Linked DNA regions of Homo sapiens: all the other regions are linked to region 3. The links are contacts of gene promoters, found by promoter capture Hi-C in human tissues and cell types (Jung and others, 2019). All regions are on one chromosome and are shown on one strand. Each heading gives the region's core, a stretch centred on a gene start or on the middle of the fragment in contact. The rest is flanking DNA. Distances are from core to core; before and after follow the strand shown. Region 1 overlaps PIEZO2 (piezo type mechanosensitive ion channel component 2). Region 2 overlaps PIEZO2 (piezo type mechanosensitive ion channel component 2). Region 3 holds the start of PIEZO2 (piezo type mechanosensitive ion channel component 2). Region 4 overlaps LOC107985173 (a long non-coding RNA gene). Region 5 overlaps PIEZO2 (piezo type mechanosensitive ion channel component 2).

Region 1 (3,169 bases), core at 445-2,944, 260 kb after region 3:
TAAGATAGAAATGCACACTGTTCAAATGTGTAGGCATACAAATCTCAGTGGCCACAGCTCACTCTGGGACTGTTTATTTTATTATTTTTTTAATTTATAAAAATAACAAATCTTTGTTTAGGAGAATATCTCATTAACCTAGCCATAATTCAATAAATCAGTGATTTTGTAATAGGTCTTGAACTACTAAAACATAATTTCCCAGAATTTTAAGCAAAGGGATTCGCAGTAGAAACAGTTTCCTCTGAATCCAGCATTGTTAATTTTATCCTGGCCATAAATTTTCTATTAGGGAAATCCCCAGGGAGAAACCACTGAAGCAGCTCTGTTGAAATACTGCAGAAAAGGGCTCAAGGACCTTTACTGACCATATTTCTTTCTGAATGTTGAGATGTCAGAAAACAATGCCTACCATTTAGTACAATTTCTGTTATTTTCAACAGCTACATATTTACAGATGTAGCTTGTTTAAAATATTTCATTTGTATGAAGTACTTGTTAGATTTTGGTGGTGATTTCTTCATTTACATTTTTATGTTTTCTCAGATTTTGCTTTTCCTCTCTATTCCTACTCACCACACTTGCGGTCTTTATTGTTTCATGCTAAATTGCTTCTGTGCTTCCCTCACCCCCGCCCCTCTCCCCATCTTTCTCTCTCCCTCTCTCTGGTTCATTGAGGTGCAATTTACATTCCTAAAATTCTACCCATTTTAGGTGAGTAGTTCTATGAATTTGAAAATATACACAATCATTTAACCACCACCATAGTCAGGATGTGTGTTATCTTCATTATCCCCAAAAAGAGTCTCCTGCCCTCGGCAGTCAACCTCCCACCTCTTCCCCCAGCCCGTGGCAACCACTGATCTGATTTTTCTTTCTCTGGCTTTACCTTTTCTGGATTGTCATGTGAATGGAATCATGGAGTCTATGGCCTTTTGTGTCTGGCTTTTTTCACATGGAATAAACCTTTTAGATTTATCCATAGAGTCACAAGTATCCATACTTGATTCCTGTTTAATTAATTAATTTTTATTTATAAATAATACATAATAATTGTACATATTTATGGGGTACATTGTGATAATTCCCTTTTATTGCTAATGGTATTCCATTATATAGACATTATATAATCAGTTATCTGCTGATTGGTTGGTCGATAATTGGGTTGTTTTCAGTTTTGGGCAATTATGAGTAGAGCTGCTATGAATGTTTGCAGGCAGGTGGTTGTGTGGACATCATATTTTTCTTTCACTCTAGGAGTCTCTTAATTGGCTGTTCTATCTTCAGTCTGACTGCCTATCAATCCTGCATTACCCTAAATGTTTACCGGACCCATTTCTGAAAATTAAAGCACACTTGAACTGCATGAAGAAACATATTTAAAGATATTCTTGGGTGATTCTATTTGTAGTATGTCTACCACTCTATTTTATGTGCTTTACAAATTTATATTTTCATTTATTTTATTTGCTTAACAGAAGCTTTACCTTTTGACAGTTAAAAACTCAGAGCTATTTATCACTCATTTGATTACTATTTTATTTCTGAAAAATTTGGAATTTTTTATAGCTAATTACTTTTAGCTTGTTATAATAGATTTGAGTACAGCCTTTGAGATCCCTCACCTGCAGTCTCAAAATTGCAATGCTCTGAAAACATTTTAGCCTAGTTTTGTGATGGCAAAACCTGACCTGAAGTCACCTGGTAGCTGAAGGGAGACCATTCCTGTGAGTGCGAATTGTCCTCATGTGTGTGTTTGAACAGGGCCAATGCCTAGTGTCTGCATCAAGCGGTACATCATGTATGTAACATGTGTCTTTCTGCATTCTGGAAAAGGATGAATTTTGAAGTACATTTGGCTCCAAGAGATTTGGAAAGAGGATTTGTACTGTCTTCATCTGTTCCCTACACAACTGCCTTACTTGTTTGATGATGGTAGTCAAACTTTTTACTGTGACCGCAGGAAGCAATGCACTTTCTTTTATTTTTTTTTAACAGAGTCTCAGTCTGTCTCCCAGGCTGGAGTGCAGTAGCGCAATCTCGCTCACTGCAACCTCTGCCTCCCGGGTTCAAGTGATTCTCCTGCCTCAGTCTCCCAAGTAGCTGGGATTACAGGTGCGCACCACCACACCCAGCTAATTTTTGTATTTTTAATAGAGACAGGGTTTCACCATGTTGCTCTCGAACTCCTGGCCTTAAGTAATCCACCTGCCTCGGCCTCCCAAAGTATTGGGATTATAGGCGTGAGCCACCGCTTCCAGCCAGCAATGCACTTTCTGTTTTGATCTGGTACAACACGTGATTTCAAACTTTCAAAGGAAAAAAAAAGTTACTCTTACCACTTGCAAGGAGATTCGATATATTTTTTATTTCCTTTGTTCTATTATATTACAGAAAAAATAAAGTACTGGTTGATTCCCACTAAGTTTATTTTATAATATGCTAATTATTCATGACCTGCATTTGGAAAAACACCAGGCTAAACACCAGTGCTCAGCAGGAGGGATGGTAAGCTCAGAAGCGAATTAGAAGTTTATTCCTTGATATGATTTGGCTGTGTCACCACCCAGATCTCATCTTGAGCCGTAGTTCCCATAATCCCCATGTGTCATGGGAAGAACCTGGTGGGAGGTAATTGAATCATTGGGGCAGTTACCTCCATGCTGTTCTCGTGATAACGAGTGAGTTCTCATGAGATCTGATGGTTTTCTAAGGGGATTTTCCCCCACTTCACACTGCACGTCTCTTGCTGCCTCCATGTGAAGAAGGATGTGTTTGCTTCTTCTTCTGCCATGATTTTAAGTTTCCTGAGGCCTCCCCAGCCATGCTGAACTGTAAGTAAATTAAACCTCTTTCCTTTATAAACCCAGTATTGGGTATGTCTTTATTAGCAGCGTGAGAACAGACTAATACATTCTTGTTATAGCTGCTTACTCTAAGCTGTTCCCTGAAAAAAATGGCAAATGCTATATTTCATGGCACTTGCAGACTCAGCCACATTGACAAATGAGGCCTGCTCTGCCTTAGAAATGTGTACTGTGGATTACATTCATAATCCTCACACTTTAGTTCAAGCAAATGGAGACCCTGAGACTGTGTCCTCACTAAATAGGAGTAAATCACTGGCTTCCCCTGTATGGGCTGTAGTTTAAACACACAAGATTTTACT
Region 2 (3,211 bases), core at 492-2,991, 410 kb after region 3:
TCCTCAAATTTCAGAAAGCTGCTGGGGAGTTCCTTGTTGACCAGAAGCCTAGCAGTTGTAAACCCTATGGACCCTGTCTGCCATTCTCAGTCTGTCTTAGGGCTACGACACGTGGAAGCAGCCAGAGCGCTGTTGTTGGTGGTGTTTTTGTTGTTACTGTCATTGTTGTTGTTGTGTTGTGTTGTTTTCAATGTTACCTGCCCATTTCATCCTCATGGCAGTGTGTGCGTGTTTTTTTGTTTTTTTTTTTTCAAATGTCTTGCCATGTATGTTTTGTCCCTTGTGTTACATGTGGAGAAGTCAGGTCTGCACAGTGTAAAGTGAAGGAGGAGATTGGTGACACTGACCTTGGTCCTGAATCGTCCTGATTGGCTTATCTGCAACGGTTTGGGCCCATTCAGACAAAGCCTAATCCTCCACCTCACTTTGGCCTTGTCTGAAGACCAAAATTGCTGAATTTTGAAATGATAGTGTTCAGTTATTTTGGTCATCTAGATAACAAAACTGGCTGCTGCAGAGTTGATCTGCTTCATCTATGTAAATTTTACAATGAAGAAGGGAGAACATACCAGATCCACCCTGTAGTGGCCAGTTCTCTTACATGGCAAAGACAAGGCCTCATACTCTGTAGACCCAATATGCCAACACCGCGTAGCATTAGCCGAAGATGAGTTCTCTTCATCTTGTGTGTTTTCCTCTCTGCCAACATCTTTCGTTGTGGTTCTCTTATGGACAATTTGTGTATCTTTAGGGGACATTTCATTAATAAGCCCCCAATTTCCTTATATGTCTTTCAAGAAATGAGTGAATATTTTGTTTTGCTTAGTGGTCAGGAGTGGAGATTATTATTTGTTTGAAACGGATAGTGAAGAGGAGGAAGAGGAAGAATTAAAGAAGGAAGATGAAGAACCTCCACGAAGGTCAGCATTCCAGGTAATTATGGGGAAAATCATTTCTTTGCTAGTTGGAAGAGCTTTTCTTATTGACGGACCTTCATTGCAGGCCTAGACACCTCCTGTAATATTCATATGTCATAGCTCCCCGAAGCTTCTGATTTACATCTGCAATTCTTTATTTCTAATTAAATTGTAATGATGCCTGCTCCCAGCAACACCGTAATTAGTATCAAGCAAGAACCATGTACAGCCCAGGTTTTCATTCACTGGCACTGAAACAGTTCCTGATACTATAAACAAAAAATAAAGCTTCGTTGGGTGAACTCAATGTTTTTCTTGCAAGCAAAGTGAAAAAGACTTCTCTGGCATTGCATTGGATTGCTTGAATGGACTTACATTCAATGTAAGGCGATAATGAAAACAAAATCCTTGCTTTGTTGTGGAGCAAATGATCATTTAAATGTTGCTTCAGAGTTTGAAAACCGTTTCATATGTATTGCTAAAGATTTGAGAATATATTGAACTAGTAATAAAAATATGTGGCACAGTTCTGGTTTTTTCAGCTTAGCTACCTTTCTGTTTTAGAACCTGCTGTCCCATTCTCAGCTATAGCTCACCAGCCTAATGTAGCATATTGAGTGAATGTGAATCAATGCTTGTTAAAGATGAGGCTTTGTCATTAGAGTCATGTATGGGATGAAAATTGGTCTGTGTTTCTTTTATCAATTAACTACACACTAGGGCTGTTATTTCCCATTTGTTTTCCTACGAGGCACATAGAGTGATGTCCATCAAGCCACATGATATGCCCGTGATAAGGCCTTCGTCAGTTTTTTGGCCAGGACTTCTCAAGTGGGTGGGGCCCATCCATGCTTGTTTCCCAGTGACATAGAAAAACTGAATTCTCCATAGAGACACCTTGGTCTGATGCTTTCTTTCTTCCCCCATTGCTTCTTGTGTCTGTTTCTTCATGACCGGGTTTTTGTGCATGTTTGCAGCTGGCTTATCAAATACTAATGACTTAACTCATTTATTTTTATTCGAAAGAGTTTTCTTCTAACCACCACTCATCGTGCAGCCAAGGAGAGAACATGAACATCTTCACTATGTTGGATGGATTACATGCAATGATTGACTATTTTCTTTATTCCTAACTTACAAGCAGAGCACATTTTATTCTAGCTTCAGTGACTGGCATCTTTTAACCTAGTTGGTGTAACTGTAGAGACAAATTCATGCTGACATCATATATTAAATTACTAGTTTTTGGTTTTTTCTACTAATTACTCTTGCTTTGTCCTTCTTTGTAGAGAGCTATTGGGAAGTTTGCATCAGCCATTTTAGCCTTGCCAAAGTCTGTCATTAAACTTCCCAAAACTATTCTTCAGTATTTAATCAGAGCTGCAAAGGTATTTGATGTTTTACTGATGTGTAGTGTGTGACTCTCTGCTCTGTAGAAATGTAGAGAAATATACCTTCATTGCCCTATCTCTGCATTTTCTCGGTTCTATAGATGGTACCATGAAGGAATTACAGGAACGTAAAATATTAGAAAAAGTTTTCCAAAACAAGTTCTTAGAAGCCGAAGTTCTTATTATTTGACTCTTGCTCTTAAGTGGACACCAGTAACTATCGAAAAATAGAAAGAGAAAATGCAGATACAGATATACTTGCTGTCCTTCTCATGGTGTTGCCTAAGTCACATCTCATTTTAAAAGGGTCACATCTGGTTGCATGAATCAGTTCTGATGAGTAAAAAGGGTGATAATTTTTCTCAGAAAGCTGGTAAAATTCTGGATAAGCTAATAAAAGATGTCTTTTACTCCGTCTCTCATTCGGGTCCCTTTCAGTCTCCGTCTTCCAGTTTCTGCACTCGGTACAGCCAGCTTCTTCCTGGGCTGATCCACCCAGTGCAGTCTGCGGGCTCCTCAATCCCACAGATCCATGCTAGGGCTTTTGAGTACACTGTCAAAAATTATTTGTTGATTAACCTAATGCACAGTTGAAGTTATTCAGCTACCTATGCTGTAGTCGCTTCGTTACGGAAAAACATTAATAATGAATTCCTATTCTTACATTTTATAGAAAGCCCTTTCTCCTGAACTCAGTCAGGGGCAGCCACTAAAATGCTTTGCTCTGTATGTCCCTCACCTGTTAAGCGAGTAGTTCGATAGTGACATAGACCAGTGCTTCTCACATTTTACCCTGGGGTCTTATTTAAATGCAGGTTCTGATTCAGCAGGTCCTATGGGACCTCACAGTGTGCATTTCCCTCAAACTCTCATGTGAAGCACAACCGTGGCTGGGCCTTGAGT
Region 3 (3,501 bases), core at 805-3,304:
CTCAAGTCAAGTCCATTGTGAAAGAAAATACAGCTTCAGAAAGGTGGATGAGGTTTGGAGATGCTGGTTTTGAAAGCCAATGGACTATTTTCTGAGTCTGATATGAAAATGAGGACAGCGGTCTTCACCCCTGACTGCATACTTAAGAATCACTTGAGAGCTTTAAGAAAAATACAGGTGTGGGGGCCCCATCGCAGACCAATTAAATCAGGATTTCAGGGAGTGTGGAGACTGAGCGTTTTTCAAAAGCTCCCCAGGTGACTGCAACATGTAGCCAGCATGGAGAAGCCTATTTCAGATGTAGTCTAGACCGCTGAAACTTCCCCTTGAGTACATACGTTGGAAGTCTCAGAACTGGGATGTAGTTGTTAAAATCTCTAACGCCCCAGCAGCCAAGTTGGTACACACTGTGGCAGAGAAAGCTCGAAGTTTATTTGGTAAGACCACCCACCTGCTGGGAATCTTGTGCCTCCCAGCTTATGTTATTTTGAAAGAGAATTATTGTGAAAAAGTCTAGACAGTTGTTAGTATGGGAAGCCTATCAAGAACATAAGAAAGTATTCAGAGAATACAGAATTCATGTGATGACACAGTATTATTTAAAATTCAGGAGTCCTTCACCTATTAGCTCCCAAGAATGAGTCGTACATGGGGTGAGGTGGGGAGGGCATGGATGTGAAGGCAGACTTATGAACATCAAAATTAGTGGTAGATTTATATCAGGCTTCTACAAACAGGCTACACAAACCATTTCTTGATAGCATTTCTTGGTGACTGGATGCTAATTTAAGTTCTATCGTCTCCTGTAGGTCTGCTGTTGAGCTCATGACTACGCCCGGGTTTAGGTGCTATCTAAGCTTCTTGAGGATGGCAGAGCACATGGGTGGTTTAAGTTTCAGGGTGTCTTCACCATATGCCAACTGTCTTGAGTCTTCATTCAAAAAGCAATGGTTCATAGTTTTTCTGTAATTCTCAGAGAATTCGTGAAGGCACCTGAGCTCAAACCACAAGCTTACCCTGTCTCAAAAAAGGGATGTCCACAAAAGCGTTTCAAATGGCTAAAAAGACGGGGGTTTGCCTGTTTTTCATCAGCTCACTGCTCTATCCCCTCCAACTAATGCAAGCCAGGAATGTAGGTGCGGAAGGGAAGCCAGGTCCTTCCCAGTGTGTCCTCCTGATGGAATGCCAGTCCTGAACAGTCCTCTCTACAGATGCTAACAGCCTCTTCCTCCATGTCCGGAAAGACCCCTACTGTGCTCTAGCAAATCTCCTCCACTCTCGGATAACAGTTAAATAAAAGACCCAGGCACACTGCAGTCTCCCAGCTAGAGCCAGATTTCTCTAGATCTTGCCTAGAACAGGCAAAAAGCAGTGCACTAGGAGAAAGGGAGAATATTCTCAGTGCCAACGCTCTCTTTCCCCAGAGCCACGACAAGCAAGGAGCAAAACTGAGGTGAAAACGGAGAGTTCCCCCAAATGCACAAAGTGGGTGCATTATCTGTTGGGGAAGACCCGGGATTTCCCAGAGTCTATTCAGAATGGCAAGTTCTTGCTATGTGAAATATGGGCAGGGTCAACGGTGTAGATGAATTCAGCTCTATTCTTCTTAATGCCAGTGTGCACCTGTGGACCCAGCAGAAGTCGGGGTCGCACAGGACTCTCCAAGCCCCTGGCTTCTCTCCTGCCGGGCCTGTGCGTTTCCCTCGGACCTTAAACGGTTCCCTGGGTTTGGGCAAGCTCAGGGCCCGGCCGGGTGGACTGGATGCCAGGGTGCACCACCGGAATGACAGAACCACGCAGAGCCGCGGGGCTGCGGGAGCCAGTGGGGCAGGAGTGCCCGCGGAGGGCGAGCCAAGGCGCGCAGCCCACTGGCAGGCCAGGCCGGGTCTCTCCCAGGCGCGGGAGCCGCGGGTGGGGGCTTGCCCTCCGCGCCGGTGCAAGGCTCTCACTTCCCCAGCCGCTCAGGGGCGGGCTCCGCGCGCGCAGGCCCCGGAGCCGCCATCCCATTGGCCGGGGGACACGCCCGTCCCCGAGTGAGGGCTTCGAAAGTTTCATTGAAGGTGGAGAAGCGCGCGCCGCCGGGGAGCCCCGGCTGCGCCGCGAGGGCGAGGCTGCAAGGCGGCAGGCGGTGGTCGCGCTGGGCGACGGGACGGCGCTGGTTTTTCTCTTGAGTTTTAAATTGAGGCGGTGGAGGAGGGAGTGGGAGACCCACTCACCCGATATGCGCTCTGGTCTCCATTTCTCCCCACGCTCGCGCCGTTCCTTCGAGTGAGGGAGGGACTCGCAGCGCCGCCCGCGCACCGGACCCACAAGGCGAGCCCCGTGGTGGCGGGGATGGTTCTGCGCGCCTGGCAGCTCCCACCCCGGTCTCTCCGGCCCGAAGCTGGGGGGCGCAGGGGCTGAGCTGCGCTGCCTCTCGGGGATCCGCCGCGGGCCGCCTGGGGGCTGGAGGGCGAGACCCGGAGCCCGCCGGGCAGCTCCGAGAGCCGGGGCCGAGGCCAGAGCGCGGCAGCCTGCGTGGGCAGCGGAGACGAGGCCGGGCAAAGGAGACGCGGTGGCTTCAGAGGGGCTTCCAAGTAGAAAACTCCCCGGCCGCCCCCAAACGACGCCCCGGGAGCCAGGCGGGAGCACAGCACGCCCTTCTTGCCCCCTTTGCTCGCCGCGCCGCCTCCCAGGACCCTCCCAAAGCGTCCCTCTCCAAGGCCCCGGCATCAGCTACCCCTGAAGAAGCCGCCGCCGCTGCCGGATCCAGGATTCACACTAAATGGGCCGGCCGCAGGGGGCCGGGCGCCGGGCTAGGTGGCCGCCAAGAGCCTGGTGAGGGGCTACCCAGAGCCCGGTGGGCGAGGGGCGGCCAAGAGCCCCGGGAGCGTGCCCTCGGGGCGGAGAGCGTCGCGGCCCGCGCCGAGGCGATGCTCGGGTGGCTGCGAGCTGCCGGCGGCGAGAGGCCATAGACGGGCATGGGCCTTGCGTCCCACCACCCCTAGGGACCCTCGAGCCTCGCCCCTCTGCTCCGACTCGCCGGACCGACGCGATGGCCTCAGAAGTGGTGTGCGGGCTCATCTTCAGGCTGCTGCTGCCCATCTGCCTGGCAGTAGGTGAGTCTGGTCCGCTTTCCGAGGGCACTTGAGGAGGACGAGGGGGGCGCCTGGGTGGGGGACTTCTTAACAAAGTGAAGGGCTCTGGTGCTCTGGGGTTCGATTCGGGAGGCCAGCGGCGTCAGACGCGCGCTGTCCCTGGTGCACAGCCTGGCTCTCTCACTTCCCACTCTGGGGCGCGCGATCGGGGTATCTCTTAACAGGATGCTCGGGACGGGCATGTGCTGGAAACTGTTTATGTTGAATTTAGTTACACGTGGATTTTCTTTCGTGGAGTACTGACTTGTGTACTAAGGATGGCCATTGCTGTGGCTGGAAGGCGGATGCGTCCCCATCGTAGGTACAGTCAGGCTCCTACCTGAGCCCCTCGCCCCAGTGACCCTGCAAGCACAGCATGCTGTGC
Region 4 (3,018 bases), core at 239-2,738, 260 kb before region 3:
GGAGCGGTGGTTGGCTGGCTTAAACAAAACACACATGATGGGGACCTTTCTTACCTGACTCTGGGCTTAGTCAGGTTTCATCGTGGTCAGTGGCTGTGAGAGATGCTGGGGTTGGTGAGATGAGGAACCAGCTGTCTGCATTGCATGGGAAGGGGAAGTTTTAAAGAAGCTAAAGATATAATAACTGGATATGACTGGATTTCAAACAACTTACGGCAGGCCTAGAAATGGGTGGTGAAACAACATAAAATTATAGTAATTCACTGCATGGTTAAATATTACTGAGACCTGGCATCAAACTTCTCAGATCAAGTCAGATGGCGTAGTCGAATAGTGGCGAACTAGACCCAGGAAGAGAGAGAGGTGAGCAGGAGCTGGAGGAAAGGATTGTGTTTATGTGCCAGGCTGTGCTAGGTACTTTCACACATGCAATTTTATTTAATTTTCACAGAAATTTTGCAAAGGAGGTATTTCTTCAGGCTTGCTGGAAGTCTGGATAAACTTGTTGGGGGGTCAGTCACGTAACTTGCAAATGAGAGAGCTGGCCTCAAACCCAAGCCTACGTGACACCAAAGCCCTCGATTCCAACAGGACACAGGAGGGAAGGAAGGAGGGAGGCTGAGAGGGAGGGAGGGAGAGAGAGAGAGAGAAGGAAAGCAGGAAAGGAAGGGAAGGAAGGGGAAGGGAAGGGAGGAAGGAGAAGAGAAGGGAAGGGAGGAAGGAAGGGTAACACTCATGAACAAAGGGCCACAGCATGGCAGGGTGGAAACAGGCAGGAATGCCACCAGGAGGTGCTGGGTGGCTTAGCGTCCAGCTTGGGTCTTGCAGATCCACTGCACTCACAGGGAGACAGGGGTGGGTCTCCTGGAGGGTGCTGCTTCGCTTTTCCTCAAATCACCTAAGTTGAGCCTGGCAAAAGAATATTATTTTGAATCAGTTATTTGTGGGGAAAGGGCATGGACAATTATTATGATTGTCTTGAAATAGTGAAAAGGATGCTCCAAGGAAAAAGTTTTATGTGCCTGGGGTGTTTTACTTGGCCTTGGCTTTCCATGGCAGAAATACAATCAATCAAATTCTGAAAATAATTATTAAAACAATTACTCCTTGCTTGAGAGAGGAAAACTGATTAGATCCAAAGTTGAAAAGTCTCCACAGGCAGATGGAGGAATCAGGAAGGGCTGGGCCGTCGGCAGGCCTTGCAGCAGGTGCTGGGCTGAGGCCTGGGGGATGCTCCCTCTCTCTTCCCTCTGATGCCTGTGAGAGGGCCTCGGGCTCTGGGGGGGGCCTCAGTGGTTAATGTGCAGTTTGTAAATGCACTTGCATTTATGAGCAGGACATCAGGATGCATTATTAATGCCCAACTGAGAAGAATAACAAGAGGCTTTTGTGGTTTATGCAGTAAACTGTGTTTTCACTTAAGAGTGGAACATAGTAAATACAAATTGATGATACAGGCAATAGTAATCATAAAACCACAGCACAGGCAGGCTGACAAGAGAGGTCCCGTGCCAATTTGCAGCTATTTCCATGGCACGCATTTGCCTTTAGAACGTTTCCATGCTGGGTAGTTGGGTATCAGCAAATACTCCTGTCACTTCAGGAAGCTTTGTTTACGCACAGATCTCTGAGTTACTGTGGTCTAGAAAGACCAATTATCGTTCAGATACAATTTAGCTGACAAACTTATTTAATGGTTATTATTTTCAGAACACAGCTCTTTTATTTTTAAATAATGTGATTAAGAATATGATGAATTGAAACCAATTTTTCTTTTTTTAAAATTTCTAATAATAGAAAAATACTAGTTCTCCTTGAGACTTTTTTTTTACCCTTCTTGTTCTGAGAGAACTTGGTGTTTATGAAAACTTTAGGGTTTTCAGCAGCTAAATATGCATGTCAACAAAGAGACAGCTTGGACATGCAGGTCTCTGGTACATGAATCCTTGATTTATGAGTCATTGGACAGCACAAGTGGGCTTTTCTGGCTGCTCCCACATTGCTGAAGCCACAGCTACAGGAGCCATTGCTCTTGGTCAGGACCATGTCAGCGGCAGTTTGGGTAAAATGGGTTTCTATGGGCTGGCCAGGTAGTCTAAATCACCATGTGTAGTTACCTGGGGAAAGAGACGTTAATTGCAAACAGTCAGGTTGGAAAGGGTGATGGGAAAGGGTGAGGGAGCTCTCAGGTTGAGAGCTACCCTCAATGATTCATCAAGTCAATTCTACGTAGGCTTACTTCTAAATGTGACATATCAGAATATCTCCCCAACAAAGCCCTTGAAAGAACACTTAAGGTCAAGATACAGAAAGCCTAGCAGCAGTTCTCATGGGGTTCTTCTTAAAACACCAACAACAACAACTGTTTGTTTCTGTGTATTTGAATATTTCAGATATTTGTCTAAAATTTGCAGTGTTATGGATGTCAGATTTACAAATTATTTTCTTTCCACTCATCATAATCTATGCTCTTTATAGAAAGGGAAAGCACATCCTCAAATTCCATCTTTGTCACTTTTAGCAATAAACAATCAATTTAGGAACAAAGAAAAGACCCCATGTACATAAAAGTAAAGAGGTTGGTTGATGGTGTGTTTATGTCATGCAAAATGTGGTCTATTTTAAAGAAAACAAAGAGCACTAGAGATTTTACTCTCTTGTTTATTACTTATTTTTAAATTATGCACATTGCTTTCATTTTCTTAAAAACAAAAGATGGCATAAGTGATCACAAAAGGAATTGGGCAATTTATTGGGGGGAAATTTCTCCTTTAATAGTAAAAAATAAATTTGCAAAGAGTATAAAGCTTCAGCTGCAGAGCCATCCAGCTCCAGAGATCGTCTTTCTGATTTGTTCCAAGCCTTTCCAACATATTCACCTCTCTGTCTCTGTCTTTCTCTGACACTCATGATGTTGCTCTTTAGTGATCATAGAAGCTGCCCAATATAAACATTTCCCATTTCCTTTTCATAAACCATAGAAAAGTATAAGAAGGACTGGTATTTCTGAATCTCTTT
Region 5 (3,103 bases), core at 421-2,920, 470 kb after region 3:
TAGCCAGGCATGGTGGCGGGCACCTGTAGTCCCAGCTACTTGGGAGGCTGAGGCAGGAGAATGGCGTGAACCCAGGAGGTGGAGCTTGCAGTGAGCCAAGATCGCGCCACTGCACTCCAGCCTGGGCGACAGAGCAAGACTCCGTCTCAAAAAAAAAAAAAAAAAAAAAAAAAAAAGAGGAAAGACAGAGAAAGAAAGAGAGAGAGAGAAAGAAAGAAAGAAAGAGAGAGAGAAAGAAGGAAGGAAGGAAGGAAAAAGGAAGGAAGGAAGGGAGGGAGGGAGGGTAGGAGGAAGGAAGGAAGGGAGAAAATTTCGAGAGGAGGGGAAAATTGGCTGCGTAATTTGAGATGGATTAAGAGGCCTTTCCCCTGTTGTCCCCTGGAAAGGCAGTGTGAGGGCTGAGCAGAAGGAGGGAGAAGCCTCTGGGAATTTTTGAGATGAACCTCAAAGAGACTGGCCTTCAGGAGAGGAACCAATGTGGTCCCACTTCAGGTGGAACAGACTAAAACCGCCCTTGGCAGAGATACATTAATCTTCTTTAACTTGCAAAACTTTCATGATCCAGTGTGGGTGCTGTTGGAGTGACAGGAGTGGCCTATGATCTAAATTTGCCTCACTGAGAAAATAATGAAAGAGCAAATCTATACACTTGTTTGCATATCTATGTGTGGAAGCATGTATGTGTGTATATATATTTGTGAATATATATTTCAGATTTTAAAATATGGGACCCTAGTCTTCCTTTCAATATAGAAAATCGGGAAGAAAATCAAAATACACTGCTACTGCTATCCATATTTGATGCTGTTGAAAATAGTCAACAGTATCAAATGCCAGTGCAAAAATATCAAAATGCACTGCTACCATCTGAACTTCATGCAGTCTCCATAGTGCAGATCCATAGGGTGCATTGCCTTATGCACACTGAATGCAGAGTGCACTACGCACTGGCCCTGGCCCACCACCCAGTCAAGCCTCCATTCTCATATTTCCGGCACCATCTTTGGCACTTAGTGTCCAGGCTTGTAAAAGCCACTGTAGTCATGTCCTGTACTGACTCCCAGGTCTCTCTCCTGGTGTGTAATCTATGGCTAGTGCCTATGGGTAAATGTTAGATTATTTTTCCTTACTTTAATCTGCTGAAATGAATGGATCCCTCCTGAAGATAAATCACATTGCCAAGTCGGGGAGTGGGGTTGACCCCATGTTCTGCATGTAGCTTGGCCTGAGGGGTAACCCTGAAAGGATGGAGGTCATGGAGCAGCAACACTGAAGAAAGAACACACATGTAGATCAGAAGCAGGTTCAATGCCAGACAGCACAGCTCCAATTTCCACTTGTCCATAGTCTTTAAGCAGGGGGCTTAGTGGGTCCTTCATGAATCTATATTAAAGCAAACAGAAGTGCTCCCAGCCTTACTGGTGCACAGGCTCCTGTAGGAGAGTGAGCCCCTGCAACACGCACCTGCCCTCTCCCCACTCCCTACAGCCAGTGCCCAGAGGGGGCTCTTCTAATCATACAAATCTTACCTTAGGTGTCGAACAACATTGTCTTTAACAACACGTGTCATGAATTAAATTAAAAATCATGTTTTTTCACCCTCCAAGGGCAGGGAAGGGTCAACTGAAAGGCACAGATTTTAAATATTCAGGAATTGAAAGTAAAGTATCTTTCTCTCACATAATCCCTTAAAACCAGAAGGTTCATTCGGCCGGATACTTGATCCCTTGGTCCAGGAGTTCATCACCAGGAAAACCCACCCACAGTCTTGAAGGGAGAAGGCCGCTTAAGTCCTGTTGGCCCCTGTGGATCCACCAGGGGGTACTGGAGCGACCTCAGGACAGCTTCACATCACTACCTAACTTCATTTCGAGATTGGGACAAGGTTGCTATCCCCATTTCAGAGCGAACAGAGAAGATTCAGGGCCAAATCCATGTTCCCAGCACCACAGGAAGAGCACTCGCTCTCCCCCAATCCCGCTGCCTGCGGGAAAGCACCTGAGCCTGAGCCTGAGCCTTGTCTGAACTCTCTGTTGCAGAGATACCCTCAGCCACGGGGCCAGAAGAAGAAGAAAGTGGTGAAGTATGGCATGGGAGGAATGATCATCGTCCTGCTCATCTGCATTGTCTGGTTTCCTCTTCTCTTCATGTCTTTGATCAAATCTGTGGCTGGGGTCATCAACCAGCCCCTGGACGTCTCCGTCACAATTACCCTGGGAGGGTATCAGGTGATCTCTGTGCACACCCCACCTACCAGAGCCTTGCCCCACGCCACATTCCTTTATGATAGCTGTCTGTAGGGTGTTTAGTCATGGGCTGCCGACCCTGCTGTCGGCATTTGACTGCTCAGCAAATACTTGATGTATGAATAAGGTGCAGAAGACACTGAGAGACTAGTTTCCCTTTGGTCTTGAGCACGGGAATAATCACTCCAAAAAGAGATCTCGGATGCCATGTATCATGGGATAAACATAGCCTACATAAATGGGCTGATATCCTACATAAATGTTTTTCTTTTGACTCAGGATGCAGAGAAGAGCTGGGGAATATTGACAACACTGTTCTCTTTGTTTTCCAGCCTATTTTCACAATGAGTGCCCAACAAAGCCAGTTGAAAGTTATGGACCAGCAGAGCTTTAACAAATTTATACAAGCTTTTTCTAGGGACACCGTAAGTAAATCCCTATAGTAGATTTCTGTGAAGACCTCTCATCTAGGGAAGTTCACTCATTGTCATTTAATGCTTTGCCATGGCCTGAGGTGGTGGGAAGGAGGACTTTTCAGGGTTTATCAGTTACATAGAGCACATTCCTGGCCACTGGCTACTTTGATAATCTAAGAAGTTATGTCTATGTTGTTGGACATTAGTGGTAATAAACATTTAAATATTGATCCATTTTAAAAATTGTTTAACTTTTTAAATTGTGGTATATATTCATCTCTTGACTAGTAGGCCTACTCTGGGAATCTGTCCTAAGAAGTAATTCAAAATATGAGAACGCTCTATCTAGGCACTGGCTTATGAGTGCATTCTCTGCATTAGCAGAACTAGAGGCAATTTGCGGTTCAGCAAACAGGAGCTGGTTGAGGAAATTAAGGCAGA

What was found. Contacts are between HindIII fragments. The study calls those that stand out against the background at their distance.
Region 1: a contact is called between a fragment that was not itself captured here and the fragment with the promoter of PIEZO2 in region 3, in 5 of the 25 tissues and cell types used here (H1 embryonic stem cells, IMR-90 fibroblasts, hippocampus and 2 more).
Region 2: a contact is called between a fragment that was not itself captured here and the fragment with the promoter of PIEZO2 in region 3, in 6 of the 25 tissues and cell types used here (H1 embryonic stem cells, lymphoblastoid cells, mesenchymal stem cells and 3 more).
Region 4: a fragment that was not itself captured here is called in contact with the fragment with the promoter of PIEZO2 in region 3 in 2 of the 25 tissues and cell types used here (aorta and thymus).
Region 5: a contact is called between a fragment that was not itself captured here and the fragment with the promoter of PIEZO2 in region 3, in 6 of the 25 tissues and cell types used here (H1 embryonic stem cells, IMR-90 fibroblasts, dorsolateral prefrontal cortex and 3 more).

The regions. Positions count from the first base shown.
Region 1 is chr18:10,890,145-10,893,313 of GRCh38, reverse strand. All of the region lies in intron 4 of PIEZO2 (piezo type mechanosensitive ion channel component 2), which reads left to right. Among named protein-coding and RNA genes, the nearest start is that of MIR6788, 130 kb to the right of the region's middle. The HindIII fragment of the contact is 3,372 bases long and covers 9-3,169 here.
Region 2 is chr18:10,734,326-10,737,536 of GRCh38, reverse strand. It overlaps PIEZO2 (piezo type mechanosensitive ion channel component 2), which reads left to right. Exons shown (of 56, transcript NM_001378183.1): 34 at 827-933; 35 at 2,207-2,305. Among named protein-coding and RNA genes, the nearest start is that of MIR6788, 24 kb to the left of the region's middle. The HindIII fragment of the contact is 3,671 bases long and covers 1-3,211 here.
Region 3 is chr18:11,148,122-11,151,622 of GRCh38, reverse strand. PIEZO2 (piezo type mechanosensitive ion channel component 2) reads left to right here and starts at 2,054. Exons shown (of 56, transcript NM_001378183.1): 1 at 2,054-3,098. The coding sequence starts at 3,035. LOC124904249 (a long non-coding RNA gene) reads left to right here and starts at 3,107. Exons shown (of 2, transcript XR_007066288.1): 1 at 3,107-3,501. RefSeq lists silencers at 1,702-2,151, 2,392-2,671, 2,692-2,871, 2,882-2,951 and an enhancer at 2,645-3,483. The HindIII fragment of the contact is 6,242 bases long and covers 1-3,501 here.
Region 4 is chr18:11,411,424-11,414,441 of GRCh38, reverse strand. The region is part of intron 1 of LOC107985173 (a long non-coding RNA gene); the gene reads left to right. The region is part of intron 1 of LOC124904250 (a long non-coding RNA gene); the gene reads left to right. Among named protein-coding and RNA genes, the nearest start is that of LINC01928, 42 kb to the left of the region's middle. The HindIII fragment of the contact is 6,685 bases long and covers 1-3,018 here.
Region 5 is chr18:10,681,229-10,684,331 of GRCh38, reverse strand. PIEZO2 (piezo type mechanosensitive ion channel component 2) reads left to right here. Exons shown (of 56, transcript NM_001378183.1): 50 at 2,040-2,228; 51 at 2,579-2,671. Among named protein-coding and RNA genes, the nearest start is that of LINC01887, 56 kb to the right of the region's middle. The HindIII fragment of the contact is 9,596 bases long and covers 1-3,103 here.